Regions from separate parts of the Homo sapiens genome. Here all the other regions are linked to region 3. Evidence: promoter capture Hi-C in 16 types of primary human blood cells and fetal thymus (Javierre and others, 2016). All regions are on one chromosome and are shown on one strand. The core of a region is centred on a gene start or on the middle of the fragment in contact, and the rest is flanking DNA. Distances in the headings are between cores, read along the strand shown. Region 1 has its middle 52 kb from the start of USP7. Region 2 has its middle 28 kb from the start of USP7. Region 3 holds the start of METTL22 (methyltransferase 22, Kin17 lysine). Region 4 overlaps USP7 (ubiquitin specific peptidase 7). Region 5 overlaps USP7 (ubiquitin specific peptidase 7). Region 6 overlaps HAPSTR1 (HUWE1 associated protein modifying stress responses).

What was found. Contacts are between HindIII fragments. The CHiCAGO score rates a contact against its expected background, and 5 or more counts as called.
Region 1: a contact is called between a fragment that was not itself captured here and the fragment with the promoter of METTL22 in region 3, in 1 of 17 cell types (neutrophils). The highest score is 5.5, in neutrophils.
Region 2: a fragment that was not itself captured here is called in contact with the fragment with the promoter of METTL22 in region 3 in 1 of 17 cell types (non-activated CD4 T cells); the score reaches 5.2 in non-activated CD4 T cells.
Region 4: a contact is called between a fragment that was not itself captured here and the fragment with the promoter of METTL22 in region 3, in 9 of 17 cell types (neutrophils, total CD8 T cells, naive CD4 T cells and 6 more). The highest score is 10.5, in neutrophils.
Region 5: a contact is called between a fragment that was not itself captured here and the fragment with the promoter of METTL22 in region 3, in 5 of 17 cell types (neutrophils, monocytes, activated CD4 T cells and 2 more). The highest score is 9.2, in neutrophils.
Region 6: a fragment that was not itself captured here is called in contact with the fragment with the promoter of METTL22 in region 3 in 4 of 17 cell types (total CD4 T cells, fetal thymus, neutrophils and 1 more); the score reaches 7.8 in total CD4 T cells.

The regions. Positions count from the first base shown.
Region 1 is chr16:9,014,060-9,016,794 of GRCh38, forward strand. No RefSeq gene overlaps it. Among named protein-coding and RNA genes, the nearest start is that of USP7, 52 kb to the left of the region's middle. RefSeq lists a silencer at 1,453-1,747. The HindIII fragment of the contact is 6,077 bases long and covers 1-2,735 here.
Region 2 is chr16:8,990,458-8,993,157 of GRCh38, forward strand. No RefSeq gene overlaps it. Among named protein-coding and RNA genes, the nearest start is that of USP7, 28 kb to the left of the region's middle. RefSeq lists an enhancer at 1,535-1,829. The HindIII fragment of the contact is 9,740 bases long and covers 1-2,700 here.
Region 3 is chr16:8,620,362-8,623,061 of GRCh38, forward strand. METTL22 (methyltransferase 22, Kin17 lysine) reads left to right here and starts at 1,337. Exons shown (of 11, transcript NM_024109.4): 1 at 1,337-1,414. The HindIII fragment of the contact is 6,720 bases long and covers 1-2,700 here.
Region 4 is chr16:8,908,563-8,911,262 of GRCh38, forward strand. It overlaps USP7 (ubiquitin specific peptidase 7), which reads right to left. Exons shown (of 31, transcript NM_003470.3): 11 at 2,183-2,265. Among named protein-coding and RNA genes, the nearest start is that of LITAFD, 28 kb to the left of the region's middle. The HindIII fragment of the contact is 1,931 bases long and covers 369-2,299 here.
Region 5 is chr16:8,891,104-8,893,803 of GRCh38, forward strand. It overlaps USP7 (ubiquitin specific peptidase 7), which reads right to left. Exons shown (of 31, transcript NM_003470.3): 31 at 994-2,700. Among named protein-coding and RNA genes, the nearest start is that of LITAFD, 10 kb to the left of the region's middle. RefSeq lists enhancers at 395-664, 725-874, 945-1,004, 1,055-1,284. The HindIII fragment of the contact is 2,868 bases long and covers 1-2,686 here.
Region 6 is chr16:9,120,986-9,123,744 of GRCh38, forward strand. It overlaps HAPSTR1 (HUWE1 associated protein modifying stress responses), which reads left to right. Exons shown (of 4, transcript NM_014117.3): 4 at 1-650. Among named protein-coding and RNA genes, the nearest start is that of HAPSTR1, 31 kb to the left of the region's middle. RefSeq lists an enhancer at 2,504-2,759. The HindIII fragment of the contact is 6,607 bases long and covers 1-2,759 here.

The DNA of each region.
Region 1 (2,735 bases), core at 166-2,665, 390 kb after region 3:
AGAGACTGGGGTCTCACTATATTGCCCAGGCTGGTCTCAAACTCCTGGCCTCAAGCAGTCCTCCCAAGTCAGCCTTCCAAAGCACTGGGATCACAGGCATGAGCCACTATGACCAACCTGGATACTAAAAAAACAAAAAAACCTTCTCAGGTGTTTATAATGTGCAGCCAGGACTGAGAACTAGTGATTTTATGCAGAGAACAAAACAAAACCCAAAATCCTACTGAGCAGAGAAAAACTGTAAGCCTGCAGGCATCCTATAAGCCTGGGTTTGATTCTTGACCTCATCAGTTGAATCCTGACTACACCTGAGCCTCACAGAGTCCAGCCTGTGATCCTGGCCAAGTTTCTGAACCTCTCTGAGCTTTATTTACCTATAACACAGGGAGGGTGGCAGCTGCATCTCAAGATTTGTGTTGCTGTCAGTGCTCCAGGCACACTGGGCTTCTTGTCTCCAGACACTGGCATCTTTCTGGTCTCCTTGCTTCTACCCAGGCTGCCCTCTCCACCCAGCTCACTCCAAACATCTTTAATACCCAGCTCAAGTATCATTTGCTCTGAAAGCCTGTGTGTGCATGCAATTGTAATTCCTTCTGCCTGAGATTTTCTTCCTTCAGCTTGTGGCAGTGAATTCTAACTTTCCCCTGATAGCCATTCTCCTCTTCTTTCTTCAGTACTAGGTCCCTGTGTGTTACCTGAGCACTCAGAGGAGACCGTGTTTGCCACTTGATTAAACTCTGGCTCATAGAATGTGAGCAAAGTGACACGTCCAACTTCTAGGTCGTGGCCTTAAAAGAAACAAGCATGCTCTCCATTTTTACTTCCTGCTGGCTGGATTGTTAGTGTGATGGTGGGTACTGAAGTAGCCCTTTTTTTTTTTTTTTTTGGAGACAAAGTCTCTGTCATCCAGAGTAGAGTGCAGTGGCGCAATCTTGCCTCACTGCAATCTCTGCCTCCCTGGTTCAAGCAATTCTCCTGCCTCAGCCTTCTGAGTAGCTGGGATTATAGGTGTGCACCACCACACCCGGCTAATTTTTGTATTTTTAGTAGAAACGGGGTTTCACCATGTTGGCCAGGCTGGTCTCAAACTCCTGACCTCAAGTGATCTGCCTGCCTCAGCCTCCCAAAGTGCTGGGATTACAGGTGAGAGCCACTGCGCCCAGCTGCAGTAGCCCTTTTAAAAAAATTTTTTTGAGACAGAGCCTTACTCCATCATCCAGGCTGGAGTGCAGTGGCACAATCTCAGCTCACTGCAACCTCCACCTCTTGGGTTCAAGCGATTTTCAGGCCTCAGCCTCCCTAGTATCTGGGATTACAGGTGCCCGCCACCACGCCAGGCTAATTTTTTTATATTTTTAGTAGAGATGGGGTTTCACCATGTTAGCCAGGCTGGTCTGAACTGCTGATCTCAAGTGATCTGCCCGCCTTGGCCTCCCAAAGTGCTGAGATTACAGGTGTGAGCCACCGCAGCCTGGAGTAGCCACTGTGGACTAGGATGTATCAGCCTGAATCTCTGACACTGCGGAACTGGCCTATCAGTCCTGGATGGAGGTGACTTAAGAGAAAAACAAACCTTTATCTCATTTTAGCCCCTATTAGTTTGACCTTTGTCACAGCAGCCAAACCAGTATCATAACTTGGCCGGGCGCGGTGGCTCATGCCTGTAATGCTAGTACTTTGGAAGGTACAGGCGGGAGAATCACCTGAGATCGAGGGTTTGAGACCAGCATGACCAACATGGAGAAACCCCATCTCTACTAAAAATACAAAATTAGCCGGGCGTGGTGGCACATGCCTGTAATCCCAGCTACTCGGGGGGCTGAAGCAGGAGAATCGCTTGAACCCGGGAGGCAGAGGTTGTGAGCCAAGATCACGCCATTGCACTCCAGCCTGGGCAACAAGAAACTCCGTCTCAAAAAAACAAACAACCAAAAACAAACAAACAAACAAACAAGAAAAAAACAGAGAGTCTCACTCTGTTGCCCAGGCTGGAGTGCAGTGATGGGATCTTGGCTAACTGCAGCCTCTGCCTTCTGGACTCAAGCGATCCTCCCACCTCAGCCTCCCAAGTAGCTGAGACTACAGGTGTGCACCACCACACCTGTATTTTTGTATTTTCTGTAGACTTGGGGTCTTGCTATATTGCCCAGGCTGGTCTCAAACTCCTGGGTTCAAGTGATTCACTTGCCTCAGCTTCCCAAAGTGCTAGGATTACAGATGTGAGCCACTGTGCCCAGCCCAGTTTCTGACCTTAATTATATTAGCAATGTCATATTCTATTTTTTTTCTTTAGAGACAGGGTTTCACTCTGTCACCCAGGCTAGAGTGCAGTGATGCAATAGTAGCTCACTGTAACCTCGAACTCCTGGCCTCAAATGATCCTCTTGCCTTGGCTTCCCAAAGCGCTGGGATTACAGGCGTGAACCATTGCATCCAACAACAATATCATAGTGTATTGGCTAGAAGTAAATCTCAGACCGGGCGCAGTGGCTCATGCCTGTAATCCCAGCACTTTGGGAGGCCAAGGTGGGTGGATCACCTGAGGTCGGGAATTCGAGACTAGCCTGACCAACATGGAGAAACCCCGTCACTACTAAAAATACAAAATTAGCCAGGCATGGTGGCGCATGCTTGTAATCCCAGCTACTCAGGAGGTTGAGGCAGGAGAATCACTTGAACCCGGGAGGTGGTGGTTGCGGTGAGCCAAGATCATGCCATTGCATTCCTGCCTGGGC
Region 2 (2,700 bases), core at 2-2,501, 370 kb after region 3:
AAAACCCAAACATAGACAGTCATTTCCGTTTTCCTGCTGAGATTCTTTACAAAGAGAGAATTATTTTTATATTTAGTAAGAATAAGAATCCAAGAATCCCTGGGGAGTTTTTAAAATGCAGATTCCTCGGTCCTCCTACCTCTGCGGTATTCACCAGCTCCCCTCCCAGCCTCAGAAGGGTGGTTCTTATGGGCTGGGCACAGTGGCTTCCGCCTGTAATCCCAGCATTGGGAGGCCAGGGGAGGCCAAGGCAGGCAGATCGCCTGAGCTCACAAAAAAACTACAAAAATTAACGGAGTGTGGTGGCACATGCTTGTAGTCCTGGCTAACTGGGGAGCTGAGGAACGAGGATCACTTGGAGCCCAGGAGGTCGAGGCTGCTGTGAGCCAAGATCACGACGCTGCACTCCAGCCTGGACGACAAAGTGAGACCCACTCTCAAAAAAAATAAAGATGAAAAATAAAGGTGATTCTTGGACTACCCTTTGAGAAACCCTAGGAATGCAATATGGTATTTTATTACTATTATTATTATTTTTAGACGCAGTCTCGCTCTGTTGCCCAGGCAGGAGTGCAGTGGTGTGATCTCGGCTCACTGCAACCTTCTCCTCTGGGGTTCAAGCGATTCTCCTGCCTCAGCCTCCCAAGTAGCTGGGACTACAGGCACACACCACCATGCTTGGCTAATTTTTGTATTTTTAGTAGAGACAGGGTTTCACTATGTTGGCCAGGCTGGTCTCAAATTCCTGACCTCAAGTGATCAACCTGCCTCAGCCTCCCAAACTGCTGGGATTACAGGCGTAAGCCACCACGCCCAGCCTGTATGGTATTTTATTAATTAATTAATTAATTTTTTGAGACGGAGTCTCACTCTGTCACCCAGGCTGGAGTGCAGTGGCATGATCTCAGCTCACTGCAAGCTCCACCTCCCGGGTTCATGCCATTCTCCTGCCTCAGCCTCTCAAGTAGCTGGGACTACAGGTGCCTGCCACCATGCCCGGCCAATTTTTTTGTGTGTTTTTAGTAGAGACGGGGTTTCACCTGTTAGCCAGGATAGTCTTGATCTCCTGACCTCGTGATCCGCCTGCCTCGGCCTCCCAAAGTGCTGGGATTACAGGCATTAGCCACCGCGCCCGGCCCCATAATTTATTTTTTCTAGAGACAGGGTCTCCCTACATTGCCCAGACTGGACTTGAACTCCTGGGTTCCAGCCATGTCCAGCTTTTAGAAAGGTATTTTAATTTTACATGGGGATGGCTAAACTGGGCGTGAATATCTTTTCTCTCTTCACACACCTTTGTAACAGCTGATAGAATCACCTGGGTCTGGAAAATGTCTGAGCTCTTAATTTCTAATCACTCCTATTGAGATCATAGTAAAAGCAAGAGCAAATATTTATTTAGGACCTACTAGGCAAATTTGCATGACATTTGCATCGCAGTTGCATTTTTACCCTCACAACACTCCCAGGAGACAGTATTTTTATAATAATCATCTCCATTTCTCAGAGGAAACAGCCAATCCCAGCTGGTAAGTGGGAGAGCTGGGATTTGAACTCAAGGCTGACTGTTTAACCTCCAGGCTGTGCTGCCTTCATCGACTAGACACCATAAGCATATGGCAGGTTCCCATGAGCACAAAGAACAGGAAGTCCAACCAGGCATGGTGGCGCATGCCTATAGTTCCAACTACAGGAGGCTTAGGTGGGAGGATCTCTGAGCCCAGGAGGTGGAGTTTGCAGTGAGTCATGATGGCACCACTGCACTCCAGGCTGAGTGACAGAGCAAGACTCTGTCTGAAAAAAAAAAAAAAAAAAAAAAAAAAAAAAAGGAAAAAGAGAAAAACAGCCAGGCGTGGTGGGTCACGCCTGTAATCCCAGCACTTTGGGAGGCTGAGGTGGGTGGATCACGAAGTCAAAAGATGGAGACCATCCTGGCCAACATGATGAAACCACATTTCTACTAAAAATACAAAAATTAACCAGGCATGGTGGCGCGCACCTGTAGTCCCAGCTACTTGGGAGGCTGAGGCAGGAGAATTGCTTGAACCTGGGAGGTGGAGGTTGCGGTGAGCCGAGATTGCACCAGTGCACTCCAGCCTGGGCAACAAGAGCGAAACTCCATCCCAAAAAAACAAAACAACAACAACAATAAAAAAAAAAAATCACCCCCCCCAAAACAATAGGCTTATTTTAAGCAGGGCACCACTTATGCTATAAACATTGCTTCTTATTTTATTGCTATAAACATTGATGATTATTCCCCTATCCCTATGCAAATCAACACAGTGGGAAGATAAAGCAGATAGCAGGTTTGGTACCTGGTGGTCCCTGTCTCCTCTGCAGAGGTCAGGGATGCCTCTGAGAGACCGTGCTTATTTTTGTCTCTTGCAGTTTGTGACAACCACATGCACTCTGCGTCCCAGGGTAGCCCCTGGCTCGCAGCGGCCAGCAGAGCCGGATTCTATGTAAGATGCAAAATGAGACCTGATGTGCGGCTGCTCCAGTTACTCATTTCCTCAGAGGGCTGCTGTGATGGGCAGAATCATGGCTCCCCAAACATGTCCACACCCTAATCCCCAGAACCTGTGCATATGTTACCTCACGTCAAGCAGAAATTAAGATTGCTAATCAGCTATTTTTGATTTTTATTTTCTTTTTAAAGACAAGGTCTTGTTCTGTCACCCAGGCTGGAGTGCAGTG
Region 3 (2,700 bases), core at 87-2,586:
AATTGATGTTGATTTAATTCTATTTTGAAAAGAGAAAAAAAAGTAATTTAGACAAAGGTTGCCAGCTGAGGCCATGTGTGTGCGTGTGTGTATATGTGAACACACAGGGATATAGATTTTACATATGTGGACTTTACATATGTTCCTGTGTGTATATTTGTATGTTCACTGACATGTCTGAGAGTGAGCACCACTGTGTGTGTCTGGGCATGTCTGTGAACACGTCAGTGTGGTGTATATCCCTGGCAGCTCCCCATCTCACGCACAGTAAAATCCAAAGTTCTTAGAATGTCACAAAAGTTCTAACCCTGGCTACCTATGTATCCTCGTTTCCTGCGGCCCATCCCCTGGCTTACTCCATTGTGGCCAGGCTGACTTCCATGATGTCACTGAATATATAGATTGAGAAAAGGGCCAATATTATTGACTGTACTTTTTCTAAAAATGCAGTGACTCAGGCAAGAGACGTGAGAATCTGTGGTCTATCCTGCTCATCCTCTTCAGGGGATTCTTCTGAGGGCTGTGCTCAGTCACGGACTCAGAGGCTTTCTGAAATTCTGCAGGCAAGAAAAAACGAGCAAACATGGAGTCTTATGTTTGCCACTCTGTCTCACCCCCTTGGTGTTGGAAACTTGATGAGCATACGAATTAACGAAATCACTACCACCTAATGAAATCACTACCACCTATTAATAATAACAAGTACTGGCTGGGCGTGGTGGCTCATGCCTGTAATTTATGAGCTTTAGGAGGCCGAAGCAGGAGGACTGCTTGAAGCCAGGAGTTTGAGACCAGCCTGGGCAACACAACAAGATACAGTCTGTACAAAAAAAAAAAAAAATGGTGCCACGCAACTGTAGTCCCAGCTACTAGAGAGGCTGAAACAGGATTCCTTAAGCCCAGGAGTTCAAGGCTGCAGTGAGCTAAAATTGCGCCGCTGCACTCCAGCCTGGGTGACAGAGCAAGACCATCTCAAATAAACAAACAAACAAACAAACGAGTACTAAGAGCATGGATGACGGTAACACCCGTGATAATAAATACAGTAGCATGCTGGTTAAATAGCACCGGCTCTGATCCCACACCCCGGGTTCGAATCCAGGCTTTACCACTTAGTAGCTGGGAGAGTTATTTAACTCCTATTTAAGTCTTTTAGAGGAATGAGTTTAGCCACCTAGGCGGGTCCCCCCAGCAAACACGCCTCGCCCGCGACCAGAGCGAAGGCTACAGGTGCCCGCCGGCAACCCTCGGACGCATGCGCGGCCCGGGCAGGTAGGTGGAGCCACGGTGCGGGGCAGTCGGATGGTCGCACGCGGGGGCGGGGCCGCGCCTGCGCAGACCGCCTGTTATGGCGGCCGCCTAAGTCCCACAGAGACGGGAGTCGGGTGGGATCCCAGGCTGGGCCCCGCGGCGGGTAAGTGCCTGGGAGAGGCGGCGGGATAGGGTAGGGTGCAGGGAACCTCCTGGCGCCGAGCCTGACTTTGAAATCCGAGCTCCCACAGATCGGAGGCCCAGATCCCTAAGGCCCGACCCCACTCTTAGCGTCAGTTTCCCCTTCTCAACACGGGTGTTGGGGAAAGAAGTCCACGTCCTCACCTGGGTTTCCATCCTGGGTCCAGGCACCTCTCCTTCGGTTCTAGATTAGGAAGGGAGGGCAGTGCCCGACCTGTGACTGTTTTTTGAGAGGGCAATAGTTAACCCACAAGGGTGGCGTCAGGAAGGCGACAAGACAAAGAGAACGAGTAGCCCCACGGGGGACGTCCCCGGAGCCCCTCACTACCACTCTACGCACCGTGGCCAGGCCACGTCTTTCCTGCCCCCAGCCTGGGCCTTCACACCCTGCCCTCCCCAGCTCCTGGCCTAAATCGTCATGGGATCGCGCCAAATTATTGATTGTTGAGTGAGTTGCAGTTATCAGAAAGAAAGATGAGGAGGGAAGTTATTTCAACACCGTGATCCCAGCACACTGCTTATTTGGGACAACTGACTGGGGACCTATAGGAGAAGAAAGCTGGTAGCGTCTCAGTCTAGCCCCCACAGCCTTAGAAGAGCCAAGAACACGTTAGCTCCTGCTGCAGGGATGAGCCTGCAGCCCTATGGAGAGGTGGTGGGGCAGGTCCCCATCTGCAACCTGGGTCTCCTTTCTCAGCTCTGCCCAGTAAAGAGAGGAGCCCGAAGCCCATACAGACCCTGCATTTCCGGAAAGAGACTTTTCCTGACTAGAGAAACTGTTACCTTTTTTCTTTCTTCCCAGCATTCACTTTAATCATTATTATATTACTATAATGATAGTATTTACTATTGTTGCTTATTGAACGTTTACTATATGTCGTAAGCCCGAAAAGTGGTAATTGTCTCATATACTCCTCTGAGTATATGAGGGCCTGAGATAGGTTCAAGAGGGCCTCCTTATTCCCAGATAGCTGATTCTAGGGAAAGCCACTTAAAGGGAATCTCCTTCATCTGGAACTTACATTGCAGCGTACATTTCTTGGGAAGCCTGGTTGGGTTGAATTTAAAAATGGAAAATTCAACTAGAGATTAAGAATTTGAGTTTTTTTGTGTGTGTCTATACTTAAAATTTGGTGTGTAATATTATGCTCACTTTTGGAAAAAGCAAAGAACATTGATTTTTCTGGGATGTAAGTTTTCCAACAAAATTGCGCTATAGGCCATGCCTGGTGGCTCACACCTATAATC
Region 4 (2,700 bases), core at 84-2,583, 290 kb after region 3:
AGGCAGGGAAGTTTAGGTGTCCATTTAGGGCATCTTTGAAATGTTTTCTTTAGGTCTGTTTATGGGTCTCTTTGTTTATTAAAATAATGCTGCACCAGCACTGACTGTGAGAGATTCTCTTACCTTGGATTATATTCTAACTCGATGCCCAGCAATCAGGGAAGAAATGGTTAAGGAAATTTAGACAGTCATTTGCTGCTGTGTTATACAGTCATTAAACACTGTGCAAATTATGGAGAACCACAGAAAAATCATTAAATGGAAAATCAGAAAACTCTGGTTACAATTACCCAAGATTAGGTATGCTTATGAAATGCCCAAACAGAACAAGCAGCAATGAACACAACTGATGAGTCGGCAGGATTATAAGCTTCCTTTCCTTGGGCTCTTTGATGTTTGCATAAGAACCCATATATCACAGGGCACGCCCTTAGGGCTTATGGTTCAATCCCACTTCTAAGAAAATGTTCTGATTCAGTGTCAGCAAGGCCCTTCCCCAGCTGACTGCCGGACTCTGTGGGACAGGACACCCCAACTTCTCAACAAGCCTTCTATGGGGACACCGGACTCTAAGCTCTTGCCCTGCTCTATCACTGCTCCATCTTGGCCAGCTCTTTGTTCCTCAGTAAAATCAGGCTTTGCCTATCTCGACCACGGCCAGGCGGTCAGGGGCCCTCACTCCATGTCTGACTCACAGCTCTATTTCCAATGCAGACCTTCCTTCTGGCTGGAAATCCACCTGCCCAGCAGCCAGCGAGAGACCTGGAGGAACTGGGGACCATGACAAGGCACACCCATATGCCAAGGTTCTTTGGTGTACATCAGCTCATTTAAGAGGACAGAGCTATCTCAGGAAAGACAAAAACAGACCTCAGAACCCCTCTCCACAGTGGGGAAGGACCTGTTTTTAATACAGTCTGAAAGATAAAAGGATTCTGTCTCCACCGCTGTCCACTGAGGCTTCGACTCAAATACATACTGCTCAACCAGACCCTAAAACATCCAGAATAGAGAACAGTAATTCTCGTCAACAGACCAGAATATTTCTTCATCACACCAAGTTCTCATTAAAAAGCAACTTTCTGGATGAGCAAGTGGCTCATGCCTGTAATCCCAGCACTTTGGGAGGCCGAGGCAGGCGGATCACAAGGTCAGGGGTTTGAGACCTGCCTGGCCAATATGGTGAAACCCCATCTCTACTAAAAATACAAAAATTAGTTGGGCATAGTGGCGGGCGCCTGTAGTCCCAGCTACTTGGGAGGCTGAGGTAGAAGAATCACTTGAACCCAGGAGGCAGAGGTTGCAGTGAGTCGAGATCGCGCCACTGCACTCTAGCCTGGGGAACAGACCGAGTCTCCGTCTCAGAAAAAAAAGCAACTTTCTGATCTATACCTCAGTCCCTCAGTCCAACTGGACTGACCTAGCAGAAGAGTACATTTGGAGCTGACAGCTGACTACAAAATGGGTACACAGGCACCATGAACTATATACACTGGCAGGCTTTGTAAGCACAGGCCAGACTGACATTTTTAATTATAAATTAGTTGAGTCAATGAGTCAAGGTTATAAGATTACAAAACAGACCCTGGATCACTGGATCCATGAGGACACTGCAGATCCAACAGACCAGCCAGACCAGCAGCCAGAAACAGCCCATTTCCCTTCATCCAAGCGGGGGCTGGCCACCTGGTCGCCCACCATGCTCACTGCTCTCTCAGATGCCCAGAAACCTGGGGGACACAACCCTAGAGAACACACTACTCATTCTAAAGTCGTGATCCTCAGAAAACTAAATTCATTAAAAATACATTTAAAAATAAAGAAACACAACCTAAACACAGTCCAACTTACTAAGAAATCCCACTTGTGACCAGGAGAAACTGAGGGAAAACTGGAGCAGTGACACCAGTAAGGTGAGGAACGGGGAAAGGACAAGATGCCTAAAACCCCACAAGACCCTCCGGACTGCTGGATGTGCTTCTACAGGATAAACCAGCTGCACTCCATCTCCCAACATCCCCCTCTCCCTCCCCATTCAATTATCCTACAAACAGAATCCTTGTATATTCTAAATACCAGAAACACATGAAAAGGCACAAGCAAATTTTTATTTAGCAATTAAAAGAATTGAAAATAAAGAAGAACGCTACAACAGGACACTAGCACAAAACACTCAATTTACCTGTAAGCCATGTTCCCCAGCGTCGTATTTATTGTCCCCATCGAGCTGTTCTACTGCCACATAATCCACAAATGATTCAAATACTTTAAAGAGAGAGAGAGAAAAGTCAAGTGCTAAAGCTTCATTTATAATGTAGCCAACACAGGTGTAAGTTATTTAAATCAGCATATTTAGGATTAGCAGAGAAGGTAAACAACACTAACAGTAACTCTCCCCCTGTAGCCAAGACTGTAGGTAAATGTGCTGTTAGCACCTTTGCTCATTGGCCAAAGGTCATTGGTATCTTTCTTAAGGACATTAAAATGACAATATGGAGGTAACAGTTAAGGTTTTACTGTTATTCGAACAAAGCACATACTGTAAAGCTATGATTATGAAGACAGCTTGGAATTGGGCAGTGTGGACAACCCCTTGGTCTCAAAAGCAGAGATGCACAAATGTGAATGGCTGGCTGATGTGGCAGAATGACAAGGAAAACCTCGATTTCCTCAGAGGTCAACACGGGGTGGGGTGGAAGT
Region 5 (2,700 bases), core at 3-2,502, 270 kb after region 3:
CCTCACCTTAGTAATTCAAGGAACCTTCAGGTGCTATGGCTTTGAGACGGAGTCTCCCTCACGCTGTCACCCAGGCTGGAGTGCAGTGGCACGATCTCAGCTCACTGCAACCTCTGCCTCCTGGGTTCAAGTGATTCTCTGGCCTCAGCCTCCCGAGCAGCTGGGACTGCAGGTGTCTACCACCATGCCCGGCTAATTTTTGCGTTTTCAGTAGAGACAAGGTTTCACCATGCTGGCCAAGCTGGTCTTGAACTCCTGACCTCAAGTGATCCACCGATCTCAAGCCTCCCAAAGTGCTGGGATTACAGGTGTGAGCCACCGCATCCGGCCCAGGTGCTATAGGTTTTATCGCATTTGCTTTAACTGTGAAGGTGGTTTCAGAGTTAAGACTTTAAACTACTCACAATTTCCATCCCTGGCACCATAAACATTTGCCTCACAGCAAATGAGTGATGTTATGTATGACGCCAAATGTCCTTGCCGTCTGGTGAAAGAGAAGCTGGGTCAGGGCCTCCATCAGGAAGCGATGGTGTCTAGACGTGGCTTCTCGCCCTGTCAAGGCACCCACGTTGCAGGGGACTCTGCCAGGTCCCATAGTGTCTCCCTTGGGCTTTGCTCACAGCACGAGCCACCGCGCCTGGCTGCTCTTCTCATTTTGAAACAAGACTGCTTCAGCTCGCTGCTCTTGTGTGTGAGGGCGTGGGAAGGGCCACTGTGACCGCAGGCCCTTGCTGTCACGCAGTGGTTTTCAGGGCTCCCCGCTGTGAAGACTCCGAATGCTGTCAACAGATGGCATCCACACCCCACAGAGGGAGAGGACACAATAGTCCCAGGGGTTACAGTGAGGCCGGAGAAGGGGAGTTCATTTTTCTTTCTTTAAAATTTCAGCTTGTCTCCCCAGAACCAGTTTAACAAACTCAAACTCCTGACACTGTAACTGCGAGTGAGTGGAAAAGGGAACGCGGCAGATGACGGAAACATTACAACACGTTCTTTGGAAAAAGAGTCATTTAATACCTTAAGGGAGAGTAGGAACTTTCAGTTACCTAAGACTACAGCCAACCCCCAGCCCAGAACAAAAACAAGACACCTTAATGTTTGTTCAAAGACAAACCCACAGCGAACGGCTCTCGCACCCCTGCTCTAACTCCTCTTTCTGGGGGAGGAAGGAGGGAAGGGCCAGGTCCGCGGGGACCCTCACTCCCTGCTTTCTATCACACGGGTCACAAGGCAGCTCTCAGAGCAGAAGGCACACACACTGCAGTGGAAGTTGAGAAAGGAAGTCACTCCAAGGTACACACTGGCCCAAAGACCAGGAAACCGTGCCACGGAGCTGGAAGGCAAGGCCGATGGGACGGTGCAAGGACCACGCCCACGATAGCGCCTGCCGCCCCGAAGGGCCTCGTGACACATCAGGTCACATCTCCAGTCACCTTATTTGTACACAGTTCTCTCCTGGAAAACCTTTCATTTCTTAAGAGTAAATGTGACTAGTTAGAGGCTAAAAAAAAAAAAAAAAAAAAAAAGAAACAAGAGACCCTGCCCCCGCAAAACGGAATTAGAAGGAAAAGTACATCTCAGTGAAACCTTGTTACAAATGCCAAGGTTTCCCAGGCCTGTTTCCAGGGAGAGTAGAAATCTTCCTCCACTTCCACGTAACTCACTGAATTATAATTTTTATAGAAAATTTTATTCAACATACAACATTTTCCAGCAAAAAGGCAATATACAGGAAGAGTTGGTGTACACTGCTCCCACAGAAACAACCCAAAAAATACCGGAAAAGGATGAAAAATAAGAGTGATTTGCTGATTCTATTTTACTGCACTCAAAACTAGACACGCAGCTGGCATTAGCTCCAAAATAAAAGGAAACGGGGCTGGGACCGAAATAAAACTACACACAATGAATATCAACATCAGTGAAATTCACTTGCAGACTCACCCAACAAAAAGGAACCTCCTCCCAGTGGCAAATTGTACATGTTCATTCATTAAATATACAATTCATTTTTCCTTTTTTTTTCATTTTTAACTTTTTTACAAAGTCGACAGCTTACTAACCACTAGTGAGCATGCCCTCTTGCTAAAAGGCTTTCTTGTCGTCTGTTCCACTTTAACGAAATTCTATTTATAATCCTTTCACCTGCTCGTATGAACTGTTGAGATCGTAAGTCTGCCAAGGCAGCAGAGTAAACCTTAATTGAATTTAACAATGTTCTTGATTTAATAAAAAGACCCCCACAATGTCTGTCCGGACTGTATTCAGTGCATCCACTTTGCAAAGGGGCTGCAGACAGTAGTGGCTGACGAGGTGAGACAAGTTTATTAAAAAGCCCCCAGGCAGCTGGAGGAGGAGAACCCGAGGAAGGGCCGACAATGCACACAATGAAGGGAAGAGCGCTATTTATTAGGTTGTGAGTTTCTCTGTTTTGCCTTAACAGATGCACAAAAGGTCATTGAAAGTATAACTGAAGGAAATAGGTCAGACGAGCCTAAACACAAGACTTGCTAGCTGCAGGGCTGGTGCACGGGACCCCAGGAAGGCAGCCGAGCCACTCGTGCCCACTAGGGACAGCCCAGAGACCTTGAGCCAGGGACCCCCGATCCACTAACCTCTTCTCCCCCATTGCGCTGACAGTTGCCTTGCACTGTGGTTACCATAAAATAACTCTCATTGGCATCCAAGCTTTATAAAAAC
Region 6 (2,759 bases), core at 1-2,500, 500 kb after region 3:
TTGTTTTTTGAGATGGAGTCTCTGTCGCTGGAGTGCGGTGGTGCGATCCCAGCTCACCGCAATCTCTGCCTCCCGGGTTCAAGCGATTCTCCTGCCTATAACTACAGGTGTGCGCCACCACGCCCAGCTAATTTAATTTTGAATTTTTAGTAGAGACGGGATTTCACCATGTTGGCCAGGCCAGTCTTGAATTCCTGACCTTAAGTGATCTGCCCGCCTTGGCCTCCCCAAGTGCTGGGATTACAGGCATGAGACACTGCGCCTGGCCTATGTTTTAAGTTTCTCTATGACAAATTTCTGTAGATGAACTATCTGGGTCAAAAAAATTCATCTATAAAATACTGATGGGTCTTGCCAAAGTACCTTCTGCAAGGTACCAGTTAATACTTCCATCAGAAAGTAAGAGCGCCTGTTCCCTTACATCGTAGCCAGTGTTGGGTATTTATACTTCCTTTGGCAGAAGTGACCTTTCAGTTTTAATCTGTTTTTTACCTGCTCGTATGAAGGAAGACTTTTTGCTTGATATCACGTGGGTTTGAATGCTGACTCTACTACCAGGTCTGGGAACCTAGGTAAGTTTGCCTCTCTGGGCTGTTTTCTCATCTGTGAAATAAATAGAAAACATAGAAAAATAAATTAAAAAATGTGAATGTTAGTGACTTGTGTTCCTTGGAAGTTGGATACATTTACATCTCCATTTATAATTCTCCCATCAGCAGAGCCCTGGAGAACTCTGGAATGTGGCTGATAGCTTATCTTAACATGCCATTGAAAAATTAGCCCTTTTTGGCTAGGCGTGGTGGCTCACGCCTGTAATCCCAGCACTGGGAGGCCAAGGCGGGCAGATCACGAGGTCACAAGAGATTGAGACCATCCTGGCCAACATGGTGAAACCCCATCTCTACTAAAAATACAAAAATTAGCTGGGCGTGGTGGTACGCACCTGTAGTCCCAGCTACTTGGGAGGCTGAGACAGGAGAATCACTTGAATCCGGGAGGTGGAGAGGTTGCGGTGAGCAAAGATTGCACCACTGCACTCCAGCCTGGCGACAGAGCAAGACTCCGTCTAAAAAAAAGAAAAAGAAAAATTAGCCCTTTCTTTTTTCTTTGAGACAGGGTTTTACTCTCTTGCCTAGGCTGGAGTGCTTTGGTGCGATCATAGCTCACTGCAGCCTCGATAGGTAACACACTAAGTGGTGAGTTTTCAGGGAAGGGGCTTGTTCACATGTAAGAGAGATTTTAATTTTTCAAACTGAAGTTGAATGCCCTCCTAGGAGATGCCACAGGCCGGCAAGTACAGGCTGCCTCACTTCACTAGTACTTAACCCTCAAGCAGGGAAGCTACTCCCCTTTAGCCCAAGTAGAGGGAGTATGGGGTGCTGGTGTGGTTGCTGTGCACGGCCGCTGTTGGGGAGGGCCGTAGCATTTGCTTGTGTTTTAGGCCTGGTGGGCGTGTTCTCTGAGTTGCTGCTGGAAGTGTTGGGGCTCTCATCACTTAGTGGAATTGCCTTTGGGAGCTTCAGAAGGCCTGTGGTTTTCTGCAGCTTCAGCAACAAGGAGGGCTCAGCTGGCTGACAAGAGTTTTGTAGCTTGACCCTGGAAGAAGGGTTTGGGGGTGCCTGGGGCAGCCAGCTACCACTGGGCTGCTTTTGGCACCGGTGGGTCCAGTGGGCTCAACACTCAGAACTATTTGCTTGTGGACTCATAATCTGAATGCCCTCTATAAACCCACCAAGGTATGTGCCACTATAACTTAGAGCTTTAAGGAAGGATTCTAAGACCATTCATACCTCTTCCTCAGGAGTGGCGGTGCCAGGGCTGAAGTTCCCTGGGGAAAAGGGGATCACCTGCTAAACTGTCCTTGAGTGTAGTGGGCAGGAGCTTAATCACTCCCAAACTCTTTTCCCCATGGTGAGTCTCAAGATCACCATGGCCATGTTGATTTCAAGGTGTATGTAGAAATTTGTAACTACCAAGAAGTTCTTATTTGCTGTTTGGGGTCTCTTAGGTTAATGTGAATGTTGTATAGAACTGTGTTTGCGTACACAATTGCATTGGGCACAGGAAGGCTCGCCTCTTGCCCATCCTCAGTGTTTCTCAGACATACTGGACTATGATCTGTGGTAAGAAATACCTCTCCCATCAAGATCTTTTACCCAGCCACACCTTTTGTGAATGAACACACAGAACTGATGAAACAGGTCTCAGCAGTTCTTAGCTTTTTATGTCAAATGCACTTTATAGCTTCTTGCTGTTTCACTGAACAGGATGTTGTATGTGACCAACTGTGTTGATTTCACAGCCAGCTTGAAAACCTGGGCTCTCTGGACCTCAGCATGCAGCACAGGGTAGGTATAGACATTTCTTGAATGAGTTCATAAAAGGTGGCTTGAAGTTTTCTAGGTTTTCACAAGGAACTCCCTATTTTTCCTCTTCCTGGGCCTTAGGTCTGTCAAGAACTAGGGTGGTGGTGAAGAGAAGGACTTTGGGGTCAGTAGGGTGTAGGTGACAGTCCCACTGGCGGCCTGCCTCCCGGGCCCCTCCCTCAAGGTTATGGTGTGGAGGATGCCTAGCACCATGCCTGGTGCGAAGTGAGGACTCAGATGTTAGCCTTTAAATGTGCTTGTCGTGGCATGGCTGGATAAGATTCCCTTCTCAGAGTCCGAGGGCTCGCTTCTGGGTTCTGCACTGGCCTCCAGCCTCAGTTTCCCCCGTCTCCTCTTTGCTCTCTAGTTTTGTGTTTCTCATCCTTCCTTCAT